Linked DNA regions of Homo sapiens: all the other regions are linked to region 3. The links are contacts of gene promoters, found by promoter capture Hi-C in blood cells and fetal thymus (Javierre and others, 2016). All regions are on one chromosome and are shown on one strand. Each heading gives the region's core, a stretch centred on a gene start or on the middle of the fragment in contact. The rest is flanking DNA. Distances are from core to core; before and after follow the strand shown. Region 1 overlaps MAT2B (methionine adenosyltransferase 2 non-catalytic beta subunit). Region 2 overlaps HMMR (hyaluronan mediated motility receptor). Region 3 holds the start of FAM200C (family with sequence similarity 200 member C). Region 4 overlaps CYFIP2 (cytoplasmic FMR1 interacting protein 2).

What was found. Contacts are between HindIII fragments. The CHiCAGO score rates a contact against its expected background, and 5 or more counts as called.
Region 1: a fragment that was not itself captured here is called in contact with the fragment with the promoter of FAM200C in region 3 in 1 of 17 cell types (naive CD8 T cells); the score reaches 7.0 in naive CD8 T cells.
Region 2: a contact is called between a fragment that was not itself captured here and the fragment with the promoter of FAM200C in region 3, in 2 of 17 cell types (M0 macrophages and total B cells). The highest score is 11.2, in M0 macrophages.
Region 4: a contact is called between a fragment that was not itself captured here and the fragment with the promoter of FAM200C in region 3, in 1 of 17 cell types (neutrophils). The highest score is 16.1, in neutrophils.

Annotation. Positions count from the first base shown.
Region 1 is chr5:163,518,235-163,523,751 of GRCh38, forward strand. It overlaps MAT2B (methionine adenosyltransferase 2 non-catalytic beta subunit), which reads left to right. Exons shown (of 7, transcript NM_013283.5): 7 at 1-1,120. The coding sequence ends at 129. Among named protein-coding and RNA genes, the nearest start is that of MAT2B, 15 kb to the left of the region's middle. The HindIII fragment of the contact is 9,934 bases long and covers 1-5,517 here.
Region 2 is chr5:163,470,472-163,475,572 of GRCh38, forward strand. HMMR (hyaluronan mediated motility receptor) reads left to right here. Exons shown (of 18, transcript NM_001142556.2): 6 at 714-800; 7 at 892-992; 8 at 2,708-2,782; 9 at 2,908-3,086; 10 at 3,586-3,734; 11 at 4,987-5,101. Among named protein-coding and RNA genes, the nearest start is that of HMMR, 12 kb to the left of the region's middle. The HindIII fragment of the contact is 1,608 bases long and covers 753-2,360 here.
Region 3 is chr5:160,397,254-160,401,983 of GRCh38, forward strand. It overlaps FAM200C (family with sequence similarity 200 member C), which reads right to left and starts at 2,801. Exons shown (of 2, transcript NM_022090.5): 1 at 2,386-2,801. It overlaps SLU7 (spliceosome associated SLU7), which reads right to left. Exons shown (of 16, transcript NM_006425.5): 16 at 4,388-4,730. RefSeq lists enhancers at 943-1,442, 1,762-2,447, 2,341-2,490. The HindIII fragment of the contact is 7,568 bases long and covers 1-4,730 here.
Region 4 is chr5:157,338,240-157,343,285 of GRCh38, forward strand. CYFIP2 (cytoplasmic FMR1 interacting protein 2) reads left to right here. Exons shown (of 31, transcript NM_001037333.3): 22 at 818-1,017; 23 at 2,831-2,918. FNDC9 (fibronectin type III domain containing 9) reads right to left here. Exons shown (of 2, transcript NM_001001343.4): 2 at 3,359-5,046. The coding sequence ends at 4,623. Among named protein-coding and RNA genes, the nearest start is that of FNDC9, 4.9 kb to the right of the region's middle. The HindIII fragment of the contact is 3,966 bases long and covers 502-4,467 here.

The DNA.
Region 1 (5,517 bases), core at 2,970-5,469, 3.1 Mb after region 3:
GCTCAGCTTGACTGCTCCAAATTGGAGACCTTGGGCATTGGCCAACGAACACCATTTCGAATTGGAATCAAAGAATCACTTTGGCCTTTCCTCATTGACAAGAGATGGAGACAAACGGTCTTTCATTAGTTTATTTGTGTTGGGTTCTTTTTTTTTTTTAAATGAAAAGTATAGTATGTGGCACTTTTTAAAGAACAAAGGAAATAGTTTTGTATGAGTACTTTAATTGTGACTCTTAGGATCTTTCAGGTAAATGATGCTCTTGCACTAGTGAAATTGTCTAAAGAAACTAAAGGGCAGTCATGCCCTGTTTGCAGTAATTTTTCTTTTTATCATTTTGTTTGTCCTGGCTAAACTTGGAGTTTGAGTATAGTAAATTATGATCCTTAAATATTTGAGAGTCAGGATGAAGCAGATCTGCTGTAGACTTTTCAGATGAAATTGTTCATTCTCGTAACCTCCATATTTTCAGGATTTTTGAAGCTGTTGACCTTTTCATGTTGATTATTTTAAATTGTGTGAAATAGTATAAAAATCATTGGTGTTCATTATTTGCTTTGCCTGAGCTCAGATCAAAATGTTTGAAGAAAGGAACTTTATTTTTGCAAGTTACGTACAGTTTTTATGCTTGAGATATTTCAACATGTTATGTATATTGGAACTTCTACAGCTTGATGCCTCCTGCTTTTATAGCAGTTTATGGGGAGCACTTGAAAGAGCGTGTGTACATGTATTTTTTTTCTAGGCAAACATTGAATGCAAACGTGTATTTTTTTAATATAAATATATAACTGTCCTTTTCATCCCATGTTGCCGCTAAGTGATATTTCATATGTGTGGTTATACTCATAATAATGGGCCTTGTAAGTCTTTTCACCATTCATGAATAATAATAAATATGTACTGCTGGCATGTAATGCTTAGTTTTCTTGTATTTACTTCTTTTTTTAAATGTAAGGACCAAACTTCTAAACTAATTGTTCTTTTGTTGCTTTAATTTTTAAAAATTACATTCTTCTGATGTAACATGTGATACATACAAAAGAATATAGTTTAATATGTATTGAAATAAAACACAATAAAATTAACACTTGATCCAGAATGTTAACTTACCACCCCATCCTAGAATGTTACAGTTACTGTATCTATTTGTGGGAACGGATTTGTTTTTAACTAAAAATTAATAGCTATATAATCTTGTTACATTATACAGTTGACCCTTGAACGGTGTGGGTTTGGGGTATCAACCTTGCACAGTCTAAAATCCACTATAACTCTGGACTCCCCAAATACTTAATTAGTAAAAACCTGCTGTTGACCAGAAGCCTTACTGATAAACATAGTCATTTAACATATTTCTATCTTCTGTGTATTACATACTGTATTCTTAAAGTAGCCTAGAGAAAAGAAAATATTATTAAGAAAATCTCAAGGAAGGGAAAATATATTTACTATTCATTAAGTGGAAGTAGATTATCATAAAGTTTTTTTTTTTTTTTTTTAGACAAGGTCTCGCTCTGTCGCATAGGCTGGGGTACAGTGGTGCATTCTCAGCTCACTGCAACCTCCGCCTCCTGGGTTCAAGCAATTCTCCTCCCTCAGCCACTCGAGTAGCTGGGATTACAGGCACCCGCCACCACGCCCAGCTGAGTTTTGTATTTTTAGTAGAAATGAGGTTTTGTCATGTTGGCTAGGCTGGTCTCAAACTCCTGCCCTCAAGCAGTCCACCCTCCTCGGCCTCCCAAAGTGCTGGCACTACAGGCGTGAGCCACTGCACCTGGCCTGGATCATAATCAAGTTCTTTATTCTTATCTTCATGTTGAGTAGGCTGAGGAAATTAACTGGGGAAATTTTACTGATACCTGAGTCCTACCCTGGGCTTACTGAAATAAATTTTGGGAATTGAGGCCTATTAATTTATTTTTAAATGTTTCCCAGGTGGTTCTAAGGTTGCCAGTCTGGCATTGCATTTGGCAACCACTAAATTAAAGCATTTTGTTTTATATTTTAAGTTACTACATTTCATATAGTGCATAATTAAGTTTCGGAGAGTAAAAAGTGTTGTTATTCTCTAGCCACCCGTTTTTCAACTGTGGAAGAAATGGATGTAGATCAGTTCCTTGCATATGTTTCTAGAGGCACTCTGCATATAGAAGAATATAATCAAAAAACTCACGTGTCCATACTCTCACCATCCGCCCTCACAAAGAATAACATACAATTCTCTGACCTTTTTTTCATTTGGAATTTGTTGTATAATATAAATAATGTCCTTTTTTTTTTTTTTTTTTTTTTTTGAGACGGAGTCTTGCGCTGTTGTCAGGCTGGAGTGCAGCGGTGTGATCTCGGCTCGCTGCAACCTCCGACTCCCTGGTTCAAGCGATTCTCCTGCCTCAGCCTCCCAAGTAGCTAGGATTATAGGCAGCGCCACTACACCCAGCTAATTTTTGTATGTTTAGTAGAGATGGGGTTTCACCATGTTGGCCAGGATGGTCTCGATCTCCTGACCTCGTGAGCTGCGCACCTCAGTCTCCCAAAGTGCTGGGATTACAGGTATGAGCCACCGTGCCTGGCCAAAAATGTCCTTTTTAAAAATCTTCATTTAAAAATTTCATTATTTGCCATGATAGCATAAATAATGCCTGTATTTCCCTTTCCAGATTCCCCAGTTGTCAGCATTTAGCACATTTACCCTATCATTTTCATGCACACTACATATGTATACTATTTTTATTTCCTGAACTATTGAAGAGTAGGTTGAAGATACGATGCTTCATCACCCACTTAGTATATAAACCTCAGTGTATATTTTCTAAAAATAAGGATACATGCCTATATACCCTGTAATATAATCACAATCAAGAAATTACCATTCAATTTCATAAGATCCCATTCAGATTTCATCAGTTGTTCCAGTTTCCTTTATAGGTCTATGCAGTCCAAGATTACTTGTGTGTGTCGCCATGTTGCTTTAGCTTCAATATGGAACAGTTCCTCAGTGTTTGTCTTTCATGAGCTTGATATTTTTGACATTTCTCTGTATAAGAAACCATAAGTTGACATCGATAGCTCCAGTTACAGTCTTGTTCCACAGGGTTTATTTTGGCTCTTCCCATGTTTGTGGCACCTTTCTCTGACAGCAACCGAATTCTCAGTTCTTTTTTTTGAGACAGGGTGTCACTCTCACCCAGGCTGGAGTGCAGTGGCACAATCTCAGCTCACTGCAGCCTCCACCTCCTGGGTTCAAGTGATTCTCCCACCTCAGCCTCCTGAGTAGCTGGGACTACAGGCATGTACCACCATACCCAGCTAATTTTTGTATTTTTAGTTTCACTATGTTGCCTAGGCTGCTCTCAAAGTCTTGAGCTCAAGCGATCCACTCACCTTGGTCTCCCAAAGTGCTGGGACTACAGACATGAGCCACAGTGCTCAGCTCGAATTTTTTTTTTTTTTTTTTTTTGAGATGGAGTCTCTCTCTGTCATCCAGGCTGGAGGTGCAGTGGCATGATCTCAGCTCACTGCAAGCTCTGCCTCCCAGGTTCATGCCATTCTCCTGCCTCAGCCTCCCAAGTGGCTGGGACCACAGGCACCCGCCACCACACCCAGCTAATTTTTTTTTTTTGTATTTTTAGTAGAGATGACGTTTCACCGTGTTAGCCAGGATGATCTCGATCTCCTGACCTCGTGATCAGCCCGCCTTGGCCTCCCAAAGTGCTGGGGTTACAGGCGTGAGCCACTGCGCCCAGCCTCAGCCCTCATTATTCTATTTATTCATTTGCTTCATTCATCCATAAGAATCATTCTGATGACACTAGCCAAGCCTTCCTCTGTTCTCCACTTTACATAGGCCTCCAAGCCAGCTGAGCATTCCCAGACCCATGTGACCTGGCCCTGATGCCAGTGACTGCAGGGACCACTGTACCTGGTCAAGGATCCTCCCGACCCATGGAGCACTGCACCAAGAATCACATGTGCCACTATGTACCAGCAGAGCACCAAAGAGAAGGAACTAGTTCTTTTTTTGGCTGCATTTATTCCATTGTATCAATGAGGGAAATCACAATTTGTTGGTGTATAGATGGTCCCTGACTTACAATGGTTCAGCAGATTTTTTGACTGCAATGGTGTGAAAGTAATCACATTCAATAGAAACCATACTTCAAGTACTCATACAACCATTCCGTTTTTCACTTTCAGTATAGTATTTAATAAATTACAGAAGATATTTAACACTTTGCTATAAGATAGGCTTTGTGTTAGATGTTGCCCAACTGTAGGCTAATGTAAGTGTTCTGAGCATATTTAAGGTAGGCTAGGCTAAGCTGTGATATTCAGTAGGTTTATGTGTATTAAATGCATTTTTGACTCAGGATATTTTAAATTTATGAAGGATTCATCAGGATGTAACCCCATTGTAAGTTAGGTATCTGTACTGGAATATAAGCTAATTATACCCTTTTGGCAGCCAAATCATCTCATCAACATTAAATATAGCAGTAGGCTTTTTTGTAATTTTTTTTGTGCAGTAGGTTTTAATTCAAGGGTAGGCTAGTCAAGATATTTTTTTTACTTGAAGGAAGTATTATGTATAGTGCAAAGAAACAACTCTAGATTCAAACGTGATTTTTCCACTTGCTAGTAGCAAGTTGCTTTTCCTTTCGGAGCTTGAAGTAATTTTTAGGGTTAAATGAAAAGAATACCACCTATTTCACAGGTCTGTCGTGGAAATACTTGGAACAGAGATACTAGCACATGTAGCTGTGGACTTAACAAATGCCTAAGGGTTGGGGTATGGGGGAGAAATGGTGGTCTTGTAATATTACCTTCACTTTCAGCTGTAAGATATTAGGAGTTTTCTCTCATAAATAAGATTACCAGTGGTTTTTCTTTGTGATTTTTAAGTATTTTCTAGACTTAATTTTAGTATTTTGTAAATGCATTTAAAAATATTTCAAAGAAAATTATTTTTGTAACTTGTTTTACCTAAGGACTTCTGAAAGTTCTTTTCTGTATTTTGCTACAGAAATAGCCAGAATACTTGAATTTATATACATATAAATGTATCTCTGGAAATTGAATACATTCACTTCATGTATTTACTTGCAAGTGATTTACATTGAAAGATGGCCATGAAATTTCCCAGCTGTGTCTACAGTTACTTTGCTTTCCATGGTCCCCATTTCAATTCTAATTTTTGACATATATACATGCTACATATTATTGAACAATTTCAATTTCCCCCCAGTTTGTTATAGATTTAAAAAATATTCCCTTTGAAATGAAAAATTGATATATGGCCTTTAAAATGTTTTAATGTGAGATGCTAAAAATTATTCAAGATAAATCAAACACTTTGGCATATAGGAGGGCTGGAAATAATTTTTTATTTTCCTTATACAGCGTCACCCCCAGGCTTTATGTGCTTAGAACACATAAGGTCCTTGGAAAGTTGAAAGAGGGATGATGGTTCTGGCCTTCAGAAGTGTTCGTCTGTAGTTACAATTCACCCCGAAACTA
Region 2 (5,101 bases), core at 307-2,806, 3.1 Mb after region 3:
AATTAGTCAGGTATGGTGGCGTACACCCGTAATTCCAGCTACTCAGGAGGCTGAGGCATGAGAATAGCTTGAACTCGGGAGGCTGAGGCATGAGAATAGCTTGAACTCGGGAGGTGGAAGTTGCAGTGAGCAACACGGCACTCCAGCCTGGGTGACAGAGTGAGACTCTGTCTTACAAAAATAAAATAAAAATAAACCAGCAAGTCACATTAAGGAAAAGAGGGATAAGAACAGTAGACTGGTACAGTGGCTCATGCCTGTATTTCCAGCATTTTGGAAGGCTGAGGGCTGGAGAATTGCTTGAGGCCAGGAGTTTGAGACCAGCCTGGGCAACATATCAAGACCCCATCTCTATAAACAAATTGAAAAATTAGCTAGGCATGGTGGTGGTGCACACCGGTAATCCCAGCTACTCAGGAAGATGAGGCAGGAGGATTGATTGAGCCCAGGAGTTTGAGATTATAGCGAGCTATGATCATGCCACTCCACTCTAGCCTGGACAGCGGAGCGAGACTTGATCTCTTAAAAAGAAAAGAAAAAAAAATTAAATCAATCAGTAATTATGGTGTAGGTCAAAGACTGTTCTCTCTACCAAAGTATATTAAAGTCAAAAACATAACCCCAGTGATAGGTAGAAAAATCAATATTTGTGTATTTTAAATATGTCTTAGCAGAAAATATTTCTGAATTTTTTACGTGTTTGTTGTATTTAGTTTTCTGAAAATGGTAACCAGAAGAATTTGAGAATTCTAAGCTTGGAGTTGATGAAACTTAGAAACAAAAGAGAAACAAAGATGAGGGTGAGTGCTGCCCTTGGCAGGTTTGCTGTGTCTGGATCTGGGGATCAGTACAACTTTCTCATTTCCTAAAACAGGTATCTTTGTTGTGTAGGGTATGATGGCTAAGCAAGAAGGCATGGAGATGAAGCTGCAGGTCACCCAAAGGAGTCTCGAAGAGTCTCAAGGGAAAATAGCCCAACTGGAGGGAAAACTGTAAGTGAGTGAATGTGAAGAGAAATTGTTAAGTGGAAGCAATTCTTGATTTGAGTCTCTTCACAAATTATTGTTTACTGAGACTTCAACCTTCTGTTAGTACTTATCTCATTGCCTCCCTCCAGTTGCCCTATTTCTCTTTTTAAACTAGAATGAGCCCTAATCATTCTCAAACATGTTGTGCTACAAAGTTGTATGAGTGCATTACTTTTGTACATCTTCTGTATTATTAATGATGAGGAAAGATTTCATGATCTTATGAAAGTGGTCATTAGATTGAAATTGAGAAACACTGGTATAGGAAATTGTGATTTATGCACAATCCTAGCCTTTGATTTTGAGCTTTAATATACATATAATAAAATGTGTGGATAGTAAGTATTCAGTTTGGTGACTTTAGCAATTGTATACACCTACGTAACCACTACCAAACAAGATAGAGAACATTTTCATCCCTTCAGAAAGTTCCTTCATACCCCTTCTTGTCCCCCTGCTACTGCCTATGTCATGTCCCCATCCCCATAACTACTTTCTCACTTACATCATCATAAATTAGCTTTGCCTTTTTTTATTTATTATTATTATTATTTATTTTTTTTTTTAGAGATGGGGCATTGCTTTGTTACTCAGGCTGGTCTCATACTCCTGGACTCAAGTGATACCACCCTGGCCTTCAGAGTGCTGGAGTTATAGACATGGGCCACTATACCTGGCCAGTTTTGCCTTTTTTTAGGACATGCAAAAGAGAAAGAGCATGTGTGTGTGTTGCTTCTTTTGTTTGATGTAATTTTTCAAGATTCATCCAAACCGTTCTGTATACTGTAATTTTTCCTATTTTATTTCTGAGTAGTGGTTCACCTTATGAATATACCTCCATCTCTTTACTCTTCTCCTTTTGATCATTATTTGGGCTGTTGCCAGTGTCTGCCATTAAAAAGACTGCTGTGAACATGTTTTATGTTTTTTTATGGACACGTTTTTATTTCTCAGAGAAATTTCTAGGAGTAGAATTCTTGGGTAATAGGGTAGTGTATATATAATGTTTTTTAAAACTCAGAAGTGTTTTTGCCATTTTTATACACCCCCTGGCAATGTATGATAGTTTCAGTTGTTCCAGATTCTCACCAACATTTAATGTTGTCAGTCTGTTTGATTTTAGCCTTTCTACTAGGTAGGAAGTGGTATCTCCTTTGTGATTTTAATTTGTTACCATGAATGTTGACCTTATTTTTATGTGCTTATTGACCATTTTATGTGCATATCACCTTTTGCAAGGTGTCTATTGAAGTCTTTTGTCCATTTCTTGCATTGGACAGTTTGGTGGAGGTAAACAGATAAGTAATTGAAGACCAGGTAGTCTGGGACAAAAGCTTTATGGGCACACAAAATGCTATTTAGTATGTTGGATGGGTGGGGAAACCAGGAAGACCACAAAAAGAATATTATTTCTAACACTTGGGATACTGTAATGATGGTTCTTGTCATCATAGGTTTTTTTGTCAGTATATATTCAGAAAACTTTCTCACTTAAATAAAAATTTTAGTCTTCTATTTTGATGTAAATTGTGAATTTGAGAAATTACATAAAATAATAGTTAAGAGTTAGGGCTCTGTAGTCAGCCTGCCTGATACAGGAGTATCTGGTACATAAGCATTATGTAAGATTATTAAATAACGAAACTAGAATGTATTAACATATGCAATTTTTGTTTTAGTGTTTCAATAGAGAAAGAAAAGATTGATGAAAAATCTGAAACAGAAAAACTCTTGGAATACATCGAAGAAATTAGGTAATATGAGCAGTAGCTTTAAATTGAACCTTATTTTTTTAATACTCAGTCATTTTCATCATTTTTCTGTTATTTTCCCTGTGCCTAAATAGATGTGCTTTTTAAGATAATTTGTTTTAATGCAGTTGTGCTTCAGATCAAGTGGAAAAATACAAGCTAGATATTGCCCAGTTAGAAGAAAATTTGAAAGAGAAGAATGATGAAATTTTAAGCCTTAAGCAGTCTCTTGAGGAGAATATTGTTATATTATCTAAACAAGTAGAAGATCTAAATGTGAAATGTCAGCTGCTTGAAAAAGAAAAAGGTATTACAGTGTTTTATAGTTACTTTGTTTAGATAAGTGTTACATACAACATTTAGGAAAAATACTACTATGCTAAAACAACCTTTTAAATATAATTAGCTATACTAACATTTTAAATATAATTAGCTATATAGCTATACAACAGCAAAAACCTGTACTGCATTTTAGAATATTTTACTCTTATAATGTTTGTTTTCTGTTTATTTCAATACAGCATATTACCTGTCTTGATTGAAATATATACAGTCATATAATTCTTGACTTTTCCACTAGGTGGCTGTGTAACAATCAGTAGATAACACAGAACAAGATTTGTGGGTTTTATTATTTAGCACATAGTATATATTACATGGAGTAATGATACAAAGTTCACAGTTTTGTTTTCTTCTTTGGAAATACCATGCTAAAAGCAGTGTAATGGAATATTATGGGAGTCCAGGTTTCTCAGTCTTAATGTTCTTATCTAATTCCAGTATTCTTGATGTTTTGCGTTTTCTAGAAGACCATGTCAACAGGAATAGAGAACACAACGAAAATCTAAATGCAGAGATGCAAAACTTAAAACAGAAGTTTATTCTTGAACAACAGGAACGTGAAAAGCTTCAACAAAAAGAATTACAAATTGATTCACTTCTGCAACAAGAGAAAGTAATTTACCACCATATTTTTTTAAACTGTTCATTTTGTGTCATACATTTCCCTATGTCTCTGAACACCTTTAAATTGTGTATATCCTTTGATCTACCAATTCTATCTTTAGAGTCTTATCCTGAGGACATAATCATGGATATGCTGAGGATTTAGCTACGTATTTTCACTACATGTTCACCCTAGGGTTATGAATAATGTGGGAAAATGACAACAGATACAGCAAAATAGGGAATTTTTAAAAAATTTTCTGGCTCATTCTTGTGTTATTTAGGCTATATAAACATTTACACTTACCTTGTAAAAGACTGTCTAATTACAGAAGAAACAAAGCAATTTTTAAAATCCAGATTATTTATAGAACATTTTACATATCAGTGAGAAGAAAGAAAGTCCACTGAAAAATTATGGGCATAGGATGGAAACAGAGAAGGAGAAGTTCTGGCCTGTAAATATAGAAAGATACTCCACCTTAGTAGTAACCAAGGAAGTAGAAATAATATTTTTTTCACTTACAAAATTGGCACAAATTAAAACATTTGATAACACAAAATACTGGTGAGAGTTAAGCCAACAGGTACTTACATGCACTGATGTGAAATATTATAGTGTTGGACAACCTACAACAGCTAAAGGAATTGAGTAGATCTATATACACTGACCTGGAAAGATTTCAGCAACAGAGTATATATCATTTATATCCCTCCCCAAATGTATATGTATATATAAGTGTAAAGAAAAATACCAGAAGGCATATATATTCCAAACTAGTAGCTATCTCTGCAATGGGAAAACTAAAATTAGGGGGGGAAGTCGTCAAAGATAATATTAACATCATTTGTAATGTTAGAATTATTTCACAATGGTGATGTATTTGTATATTGTATAGCTTAAAAAATAATTTTATGTAATATGGAAATCACCACACACTTTTTACATAATATGTGAAAAATAATGTTAATATCAAAGCCAGTTGTAAAACAGATATATATATATAAAATATAATTTTAGATTAAGAAGTTTCTGCATGTGCGTTGCATAGAAAAAAGCCTAAGATGATATTTGCCACAATGTTAACAAGGTATAGGAAATAATCTATGAAAACAAATATGCTATTTCTATATTGTTTTAAGTTTCCTTGAATCTGTTGAATTTAGGTTTCATCCTTCTTTATCTGTACTTTTTTTTGTCTCCTAGTACAACCTCACAATGCCATTCCAAATTATTTTGGTGGTTTTCTGTTTGGATATAGGAATTATCTTCGAGTCTTCATCAGAAGCTCTGTTCTTTTCAAGAGGAAATGGTTAAAGAGAAGAATCTGTTTGAGGAAGAATTAAAGCAAACACTGGATGAGCTTGATAAATTAC
Region 3 (4,730 bases), core at 1,551-4,050:
CTAACAAATATTCTAGGTTTCTAAGTGAATGGTCCCAATGCTTTAATAGATATTTAAATTTTCTACATTTTCTGAGTTGATGACAGCCTCCTATGAAAGTTGAAACCTAAAATGAAAGCCATATCTTTTCTCTTTCTCTCCCTTTAGCAACGAGTAAAGGCATAATCCACAGGTAGGCTCAAATATACCTTAGAAAACATTCTATCTCCAAGATAAGTAAGTGATCCCCAAAGTTTCCAAAGTTCTGTGCCAGAGAATGTGGCTGAAATAAAGTAACAGGTACACATTTAAATCTGAATGCCCACTTTGGACATTAAAAGAAAAATCACAAGCCAAGAATATCCACTTAAAGCATTAGCTTTCAAGTGGATCTACCAAGATGAACTAGTTGTAAAGTGTACTCCAATAAAATAAGCTGAGCTGTTACAAGGTTGTTATGAGCCTGTTAAATTGGAGGATGTCTGCCAATCAAAAAAGACAACCTGAAGTTTAAAGAGCTGATCTTAAGACTTCTTTTGTCAAGTAATGAGACTACATGACCACTTTTGCTTAGAACCACTTCTAATTAATGACGATAAAATTATGACATTACCATAAATGCTTATTTTTCTGTATTCTATTAATGTATATTTATCATGTAATATTTGGGGAGGAAGAGGGAATAAAGGAAAATGTTTTTAGTCACATTAGAAATCATTACAAGAGGGGCCCTGCACGGTGGCTCACGCCTGCTACCCCAGCACTTTGGGAAGCCAAGGCGGGCAGATCACTTGAGGTCAGGAGTTCCAGACCAGCCAGGCCAACATAGTGAAACTCTGTCTCTACTAAAAATACAAAAATTAGCTGGGTGTGGTGGCGCATGCCTGTAGTCCCATCTACTCGGGAGGCTGAGGCAGGAGAATCGCTTGAACCCAGGGGGCAGAGGTTGCTGTGAGCTGAGATCATTGCAGTGAGCTGAGATCACGCCACTGCACTCCAGCCTGGGTGACACAGCCAGACTCTGTCTCAAAAAAAGGCTGGGTACGGTGGCTCATGTCCATAATCCCAGCACTTTGGGAGGCCGAGGAAGGCGGATCACCTGAGGTCAGGAGTTTGAGACTGGCCCTGCCAACTTGGCGAAACCTCGTCTCTACTAAAAATACAAAAATTAGCTGTGCATGGTGATCCCAGCTACTGGAGAGGCTGATGCAGGAGAATCGCTTGATCTGGGAGGCAGAGGTTGCAGTGAGCCGAGATGATGCCACTGCGCTCTCCAGACTGGGTGACGGAGTGAGACTCTGTCTCAAAAACAAAACAAACTGGAAATCATTACAAGATCTGTTAAGAGTCCATTCCTATCCACCTTGACTATGTCTCTCAAGTATATTTTAATTTAAAATTTATCTGTTTTGAACAGTTTTAGGAAAATCAATTTAAAGTATTCTTCTCCATAACCCTCAAAAAGGGAGAACAGGTGGCAAGAATTTTCAAGGGCCTCAAAGATGAACTTACTGCCCAAGAGGCTTGTGTTTTAGAACCTCACAATTTGCACTTGCGCTTTTGTGGTATTTAGGAATTACAATATCCTAAAAAACGTAAACATTAAAAAGCATCATGATAAGGAGATATTGTTAAACAGGCATGATAATGGTATTGTGGTTGTGTTTTTAAAAAGTCCTCATTTGTTAGATACAGACAATTATTTACAAGTGAAATAAGATGTCTGGGATTCCTTTGAAATACGTACTTCAGCACACTCACAAACATGCACAAAGCGGGGTGGAGATAAAAGAAATGACTGGCCTTAAGTTGGTAACTCTTGAAGCTGGATGATGGGTATACATCATTACACCGTTCTATTTTAATGTATTTTGGAAACTTTCCATAATAAAAAGATAAAAAGCATTATCTTAAGATAGATATCACTCATTTTAAGCATGATTCTTTTGAGAGATTATCTTCAGATGCTTAATGAAAGATCTGATATAACAAAGTAAAATGTTTTTGCAAGTTTATGAAGGGTAGATATGAAAAAGTATTACAAATGAGAAAAATCAGTTAAAAGTGAACACTCACAAAACAAATATTTAGGGAATGCTAATATATATATATTCCAGCAGTGAAAACACCAAAGTGCAGCTGTAAACCTAAAACTCCAAACCAAATACAATTCAACTTCTTTCTAGCCACTGCGTATGCAAGATCATGATAGGCGCAGGTGTCTGGGGAGGCAGAGCATTTAACCATTACATTTTACAGTTAAAATCAATAGCCAGGAGAATGGGGGCAGGAACTTGGTGGCTGGGCAGACGCTCCAGGGGCAAACGCCTGGGATCGTGGCTTTGTCACTTACAGGATGGGACCTTTCCAAGCCTCAGTTCCTCCAGAGGGGATAACAGTACCTACCTTACAGGGTTGTTAGGAGATTTAATTATAAGAATGCATGCAAATAACAAGCAGCTCTTAACTGATAGGACCTGATGGTGTTACTGTTAAGGACGGAGATTTTTACAGCCTCCCGGGTGAGATAAGAACGCCAGCTGCTAGGAAAAAAAAAAAAAAGACTCAGCGCGGTCTCCGCCCGCCCGTCTCCAAGCCTGAGGCGCAGGCCTATGGGATGCACGGGCTTCTTTTAGGCGCCCGTTTCAGGCTCCAGTCCCACTCTCCGCTCAGCCTAGGGCCCAGCCTCTGGCCGTCGGAACCAGTAGAGACGGCGGTTCCTCGGGTCCAACCCCCGGGCAGGAATCTGCGGTGCGCCTGGAGAGAGAAGCATCCGCAACAACCTCCGCCTCAGCCAGGCCCGGGTTCCATCCGGGTTCTCCAGGGTGCTTCCCGCCCGCAAACTGGGAGAGGCGTCTCCCACACGCAGGCGCAGTAGCAAAGGGCTGTGGGATGGGCTGGCTGGCTTGAGTATTGAGCATGCGCGCTAGCCCTTCCCAATTTTTTTTTTAAGATTGTGTACGTGGAACAAGAAATCGTTTGTTTATTGTGTCTGCCAGAGAGGATGAACTGTACAATTTCAGGAATGGAAGGGGCTGTAAACTCCACATAGTTCTTTTTAACATGCAGAGCACTTAAACTTTTATATTGTGTCGGGCTTTGAGCTTGGAGATAAAACGCCTGATAATTGCCATGTTCCATGTGGAATAAATGAGAGAAAAAGAGAAGGAAGCTCATTGTAATTTCAGATTAGACATTTCAGCAGTGGAGGATGAGCTTCCATAGCTTGTGTACTGTTGCCTATGCAAGCTGATCCCACTTTCCGTAAGTGGGAGCATAGGGATGAATTTCCATGTCATCATCATATATCTGAAATATTTTTATTTTAAATTCTTTCAACAACATGATTTCAAAGAAATAAACCCATATTAGAGAGGTTTTAGAGAAAAATCCCAAGTAGAAACTAGGAAACGTTGTTGAAAGAAACCGGAATATAGCCCTTTCCTGTTTGGGGGTCTTTCCAGAATTCTTATAAACTTAATGAGTTTACTCATTTTTGTACAATCTTGTTAGAAGCATTCCATAAGACTAGTGTGTGTGAGGAGTGGTGGGGCGTCAACGAATGTGGGCCAGATACATCATTTTCAGGTGTTAAGGGTGAGCCTGGTAAATATTGACGGGCTGCTGAAGTTTTTTGTGGATGGAAGAAACTGCTAAAGACCAGCCTTGTTGGTCAAGAAATTAGGGCCTTCAATACTAGAGAAAGGGGTAGGCTTCAGAATCCCACAGCTAGCTTCATGTCCTGACTCCAACGGTTAGGATTTGTGCAGGTTACTTGGAGTTAATTCCATGTGCTTTTTGTAAAACTTACATATCATCCATTACCCCATGAAATTCTTTTGAGGAAGGAGATAACATTATGACAATTACAGTACATAATTCTCGCACTCAAAAGGCAGCTATTATTGAGATAATAAAATCAAAGCTCAATCTGAGTAATGTCCTAGGCATTATGTTTTTTTCTTTTTTTTTTTTTTTTTTTTTTGAGACAGGGTCTCATTCTGTTGCCCAGGCTGGAGAGCAGTGGCGCAATCTCAGCTCACTGTAACTTCTTGAACCGGGTTCAAGCAATTCTCATGCCTCAGCCTCCTGAGTAGCTGGGATTATAGGCGTGTGCCACCATGCCCAGCTAATTTTCGTATTTTTCATAGAGACAGGGCTCTGCTATGTTGGCCAGGCTGGCTAGGCATTACTTTTCCAAAATAAAACAGAAGACATGATTCTGGATATTACAGAATTCTTCCTAAATCTAAGTAAACCAGGCCTCATAGAAGAGGGAAAGAGGTCCAGAAAGGTTAGGTGACAAGATGCTGAAATTTTCTTAAACTCACAGAAGCTAATCCAGGTTCCCCTCCCTGTCCCATAAACAACTTTTCTGCCAAATATTAGAAATAATGCTACAAACCACTCACAGTTAAGTATTGTCATTTATGTATCTTTAACAAAAGATAAAATACAAAACGGACACAACATCAGCCTTTATGTTGAACCACCCTGTTTAGGTAGGAAAATGAACATTGTTTTTCATTCTTAAAGTAAATAGGAATTAAATCTATTTGCATTGCTGTTTAATTTCATACCAATCTAAAGCTCGACACTATGTATATCCAAAGTACTTGACAATTTGACTCAGTTACTCACACCACTGTTTCTGAGATGCTGACTTAATGCAGTATCCTACAGGTGGTTTTTGGTAGTTTAGAAAAGCCAGTGAGTGGGCTGTTAAAAGTTGATATACTGATGTCAGAGGT
Region 4 (5,046 bases), core at 1,235-3,734, 3.1 Mb before region 3:
CAGGGCCCACAGTGCACATAGATCCCGGTCATCATGAGCTGACTGCAGACTGCAGACTGCTTGCCCATGGCTTGTAGCCACGCCTTTGCCAACCCCATGTGATACCTCAAGGGGCCTACACTCCAAAGGATGAGGCATTCTGCTCCCACCTCTTTTTAAAACTTCTATAGCAGTTAGAGCATATAGTGGTTAAGAATGTGCACTTGGGAGCCCAGTTTCCTGGATTTGAAGTCAAGTTACTTAACTTCTCAAAGCCTCGGTTTCCATATGTATAAAATAAGAATGGCAGCAATACTGACCTCATAGGGTTTGATAAGCATTAAACAAGTTGACACATATAAAACTGGCACATACTAATTTGGTTGAACCAGGCAAAATTGCCAATATTTGGCCCTAAAAAACAAGTAACGTCATAGGGTTCAACCTAATAGTAAACCCTTAATTAGTGGTAGCTCTTAGTATTGCTTTTTTCTCACCAACATAGAAACTGGAAAGCAAGTAAGCTTGTTCTCTACCCAAAAGGGATTTGCACATGGTCTATGGTCTCCTTCCAGGGGGTAGGCGTGCAACCTCCCCTTCCCCTACCTTGCCCTTAACCTTCTGGGCCTCCATTTCTGTCAGCGTAGTCTGACAATCCTTCCACTTCTCAGAAGGGAACCTTGTCACCTGCTACTGTAAGGGTCCTAGTTCCCATGTAGATGGCCAGGAGGTTGTCTGAGCAGCTGTCACTTGCGTGAACAGAAGCAGTAAGATAAAACACACACATGTAATGCTTACAAGCAAGTCCTCAGCAGTTGTGGGCTCTCTCTCTGTACAGGAGCTGGAGTGGCTGCTGGAGATTAACCGGCTCACGCATCGGCTGCTCTGTAAGCATATGACGCTGGACAGCTTCGATGCCATGTTCCGAGAGGCCAATCACAATGTGTCCGCCCCCTATGGCCGTATCACCCTGCATGTCTTCTGGGAACTGAACTTTGACTTTCTCCCCAACTACTGCTACAATGGGTCCACTAACCGGTAAGGGAGTCCCTGTGCAGAGGGGGCCGGGTGGGGGTTGGGGGAGTGGCCAGCTGCCTCCTCCAAACTAGGCCCAGTACATGTGTGAGTGGTTCCTGCAACAGGTGTCTCTCAGAGCCCCTCCTGGGCACAGGCTTTGTGCTGTCTCACTTGCCTAAGGTCATAGAGCTGGTTGACAGTTGAATGTGGTTAACAATTAGGTCTTCTTTCATTGAAGAGCTCTTTCTACTGCTACTCTGAAGTTGCCCATTGGGGTGTTTTCCTGCTCCAGTAAAACATGGGGCATGCCATGGTGAGCAGATACCTTCCTGCCTCTTGAGTCTTCAGACTAGAGGAGGATGTGGGTGATCAATCACATGACAAATGTACCATTACAAACAGTGAATAAGGAGATGAAGGAAAGCCCACAGGGCCATGACAGTGGTAACAGTACCACCTATTCCAGTCCAAAAAGTCATGCAAACCTCAACGGAGGCTTCCTCTTTGAGGAAGTAATGCTGGAGTTAAGATGCAAAGGATGACTAGGAATAAATAAGGCAAAAAGGCAGGAGAAGAATATTCCAGACAAGTTTCTAAGGGTTTCTCCAAGAAGTTGATGAGGGTAAAACTAGTCGGGTGGGAAATGGTGCTGTGAAAGATAACACAGGAACAGATTGTGCAGTACTCTACAGGCCAGGGCAGGATCGTGCATTTTTATTAACCCTGAAAGAGTTTGAGGAAAGGAGATGACATGATCAGATTGTATGTTTGTAAGGATATCCACGTATCTGAAAGCATGCCTGCAAAACAGCATACATTTGCAGAGCACACATACGCATGACAAAGTGGAACTTGCCTCCTGCAAGGTGCACACGGCCCGGGGCCAGGCACTGAGGTAGAGACAAGACCTAATTTCTTTATCCCCACAAAGTTTCATAACCCAGTGGAAGAGTAAGGCATATATATTCACATACAAAATAAGTATGTAAGGATGCAAAAAAAATGTATTCATCTGCAGATCTTCTAGGTATCTCCAAGCCTTGGCTCAAGGCCAGTATTGAATGAGTGTGTGTTGAATGAATGAAAGGGTATGGGAGATATCCACAAATGCACCTGGATCCACACACTAAGTGAGATAGATTTCCAGTTCTATAAAGATTTAGGAGCTTTAACACTCTTGAGCAGGGAGCAGCAAACTGTGGCTCACAGGCCACATCTAGTTGCTGACTGTTTTTGTAAAGCCCATGAGCTGAGAATAGTATTCACACTTTTGGGTGGTTGAGGGGAAAAAATCCAAAGAAGAATAATATTTGGTGACAAGTGAAAATGATTTGTATTTGATAAAGTTTTATTGGAACTCGATCATGCTCATTTGTTTATTATTGTCTGTGGGTGCTTCCATGCTGCAACAGCAGAGTTGAGTACTTGCAACAGAGACCGTCTGGCTTCCAAAGCTAAAAATATTTGCTGCCTGGCTCTTTTGAGAAAGAGTTTGCTGAACTCTGCTCTTGAGAAACCAAACTGGAGGTAGAGGAGTGGAGCCCTAGAGAAAGTCCACTCTTAGTTTCTTGCCTAGTGTCATTCGGAGCAGCCACAAGCCCCTGGTTGAGCCCAGGAATCTAGACTGAATTTTTCCCATCTATAGAAAGGAGACGGCAGTTGAATGGGAAGATGTCAGAAGAGTTTAGTACCTTTATAGTCAACCACCTAACAAACAGTGCACTTGTACCAGTGCAAACCTTCACCTGGCCAGGAAGCACTCCTGTTATCTGTGTCCCATGGAGAATAATATTAGGACCATATTAACTCTTTCCCATCCCTATGCTTCTACTAGTTTTGTGCGGACTGCCATTCCTTTCACCCAAGAACCACAACGAGACAAACCTGCCAACGTCCAGCCTTATTACCTCTATGGATCCAAGGTAAGTAGTCCTGCCCTACCCTGCCTAGAAGAGGGTTGGTGAGAAAAAGCAAATAGAAAAGTGTCTCTTAATTAGAAGAGTAAGAAGGTGCAGAGATAAAGGCAGCAATGAGGTCAGGCACAGTGGCTCATACCTTTAATCCCAGCACTTCAGGAGACCGAGACCAGTGGATACTTCAGGCCAGGAATTTGAGAACAGCCTGGACAACATAGCGAGACCCTGTCTCTACCAAAAAAATAAAAAATAAAAAATTAGCTAGACATGGCGGCATGCACCAGTAGCTACTTGGAAGGCTAAGGCAGGGGGATCCTTTGAGCCCAGGAGTGTTATGCTGCAGTGAGCATGATTGTACCACTTCGCTCCAGCCTGGCTGACAGGGCGAGACTCTTATCTCTAAAGAGAAAGGAAAAAGGCAGCAATAAGATCCAGGCAGAAACAGCTGTGAGTATATGAATCTTTATTTGTTCACAAGTAGCAGGAATGGGGGCAAAAGTCTGGGTGCCGAGCAGGGAATGCATGAGGTAGGCAAGGGAATAGGGATGTGGGGCTTCTCGTCTTGGCTTCTCAGCTCCTGCTGTTTCTTAGTTGATTCACTGCAGTGTCGTCCTGTGATTCTGGGATTTTGTGCTCTATAGATATAAGAGGGTACTGGGAAGGTCTTGGATGATGCTTGGAGAGTACAGGCGTCTTCTCCAGAACAGCCTGCCTAGTCTGGTCAAGACAATTTTCTCAAATCAAGGGAAGCTGACTGACAGCATTTGAGGTGGTTCACAGACATGGCATTTAACTAACACTGACTCGCAAAGTAAAAACAGCACTTCCCTTTTCGATTCTCTTTCAAACCTTATGCTATATCAAGGAGAAAGACAAATATTGGTGCTAATATGTCTTTATTACCTCTCCAACACTGGATCTCCCTTTTTATCAAAGACAAGCAAGCAGGCATTAAGCTCAGAATCACTGGCAGGCAATAGAAGCTAAGTCAGATTATTTAATATTATCTTGTTTTCATGATGTTTATTCTTATGTCTCTTCCCTTCTGTTTGCAGCAGGAGGGTGCTGGTTTTTCACTTATGGAGTAATATAAGGCTGTCTTTGAAAATAAGTTTACGCTTAAAAAATGAGTCAATTTAAAGGAAAGTATTATTAATAATAGTGAAGATAATCCATGGTTTTAAAAAATAGAGAGCGGTGGTATGTGATTGCCTAAAAGTTGGAAAACACTCCAGAGCAAGGGTTCTCACAAATTATTTCCAAATAATCCCAAATTATTTCCAAATAATCCCCTCAAGGGCAGAGGAAACTGGACATCTACCTTTGCCCAAAAGTGTACCTCTGAGAGCCTACTTGTAACTCAAGTGTTTCCTTCAAGTGCTGTGTTTTATTTGTCATGCAAATTTTTGCTTTCTACTTTATAACATATCCATGTTTGTTTTAATGTTAAAACAATGCTTTCAATTCTTAACTGTGTCCTCCGAGTGGACGCTGCTGCTGAGATGCCTCGTTTGTGCCTTGGCATACCCTGGGGGATACATTTTCCAGCTTGAGAAGCTTTGTCATGGGGCATTCATCCAACCCAGGTGACCTACAATAGCAGTGACGTTTGATGGGAGAGAAATGGGTAGTCTATAGACACATTTGTACAAACGACCTACTGTGTGGAAAGCTTTAGGCTACATGATGCGGGCGCTCTCCTCCCCACTCTCATTCCCCACAATGAGGCAGTATAGCGGGTGGGTCACCACCCCCCCTCTGTAAGGCACCCGCATCAGGGGCATCCTGGTTGGCTTCGGGATCCAGTTCAGCTCCATCTCTGGAGTTCTTGCGTGGCATTTCCACCAGGGGGAGCCCCTGCAGGTCTTCCTCCCTCTGACCAAGATCCGGGGCCTCCTCTGGCCATCTCACCAACCCATTGGCCTCCTCCATGTGGCCAGCCCTGTAAGACCATCGCGGCTCATGGCAACGGACACACCAGAACTGGAGGCAGATGAAGGCCAAGACGGCTGTGAAGCAGGCCAGCAGAATGGCCATCAGCACCCAAAGGGAGATCTGGGGGTCTACCAGGGAGCTTCCAGGAGCCAGCGGACTCTTATCCAGGGTGTGGAACATGGTGCAGTAGTGCCTGTAA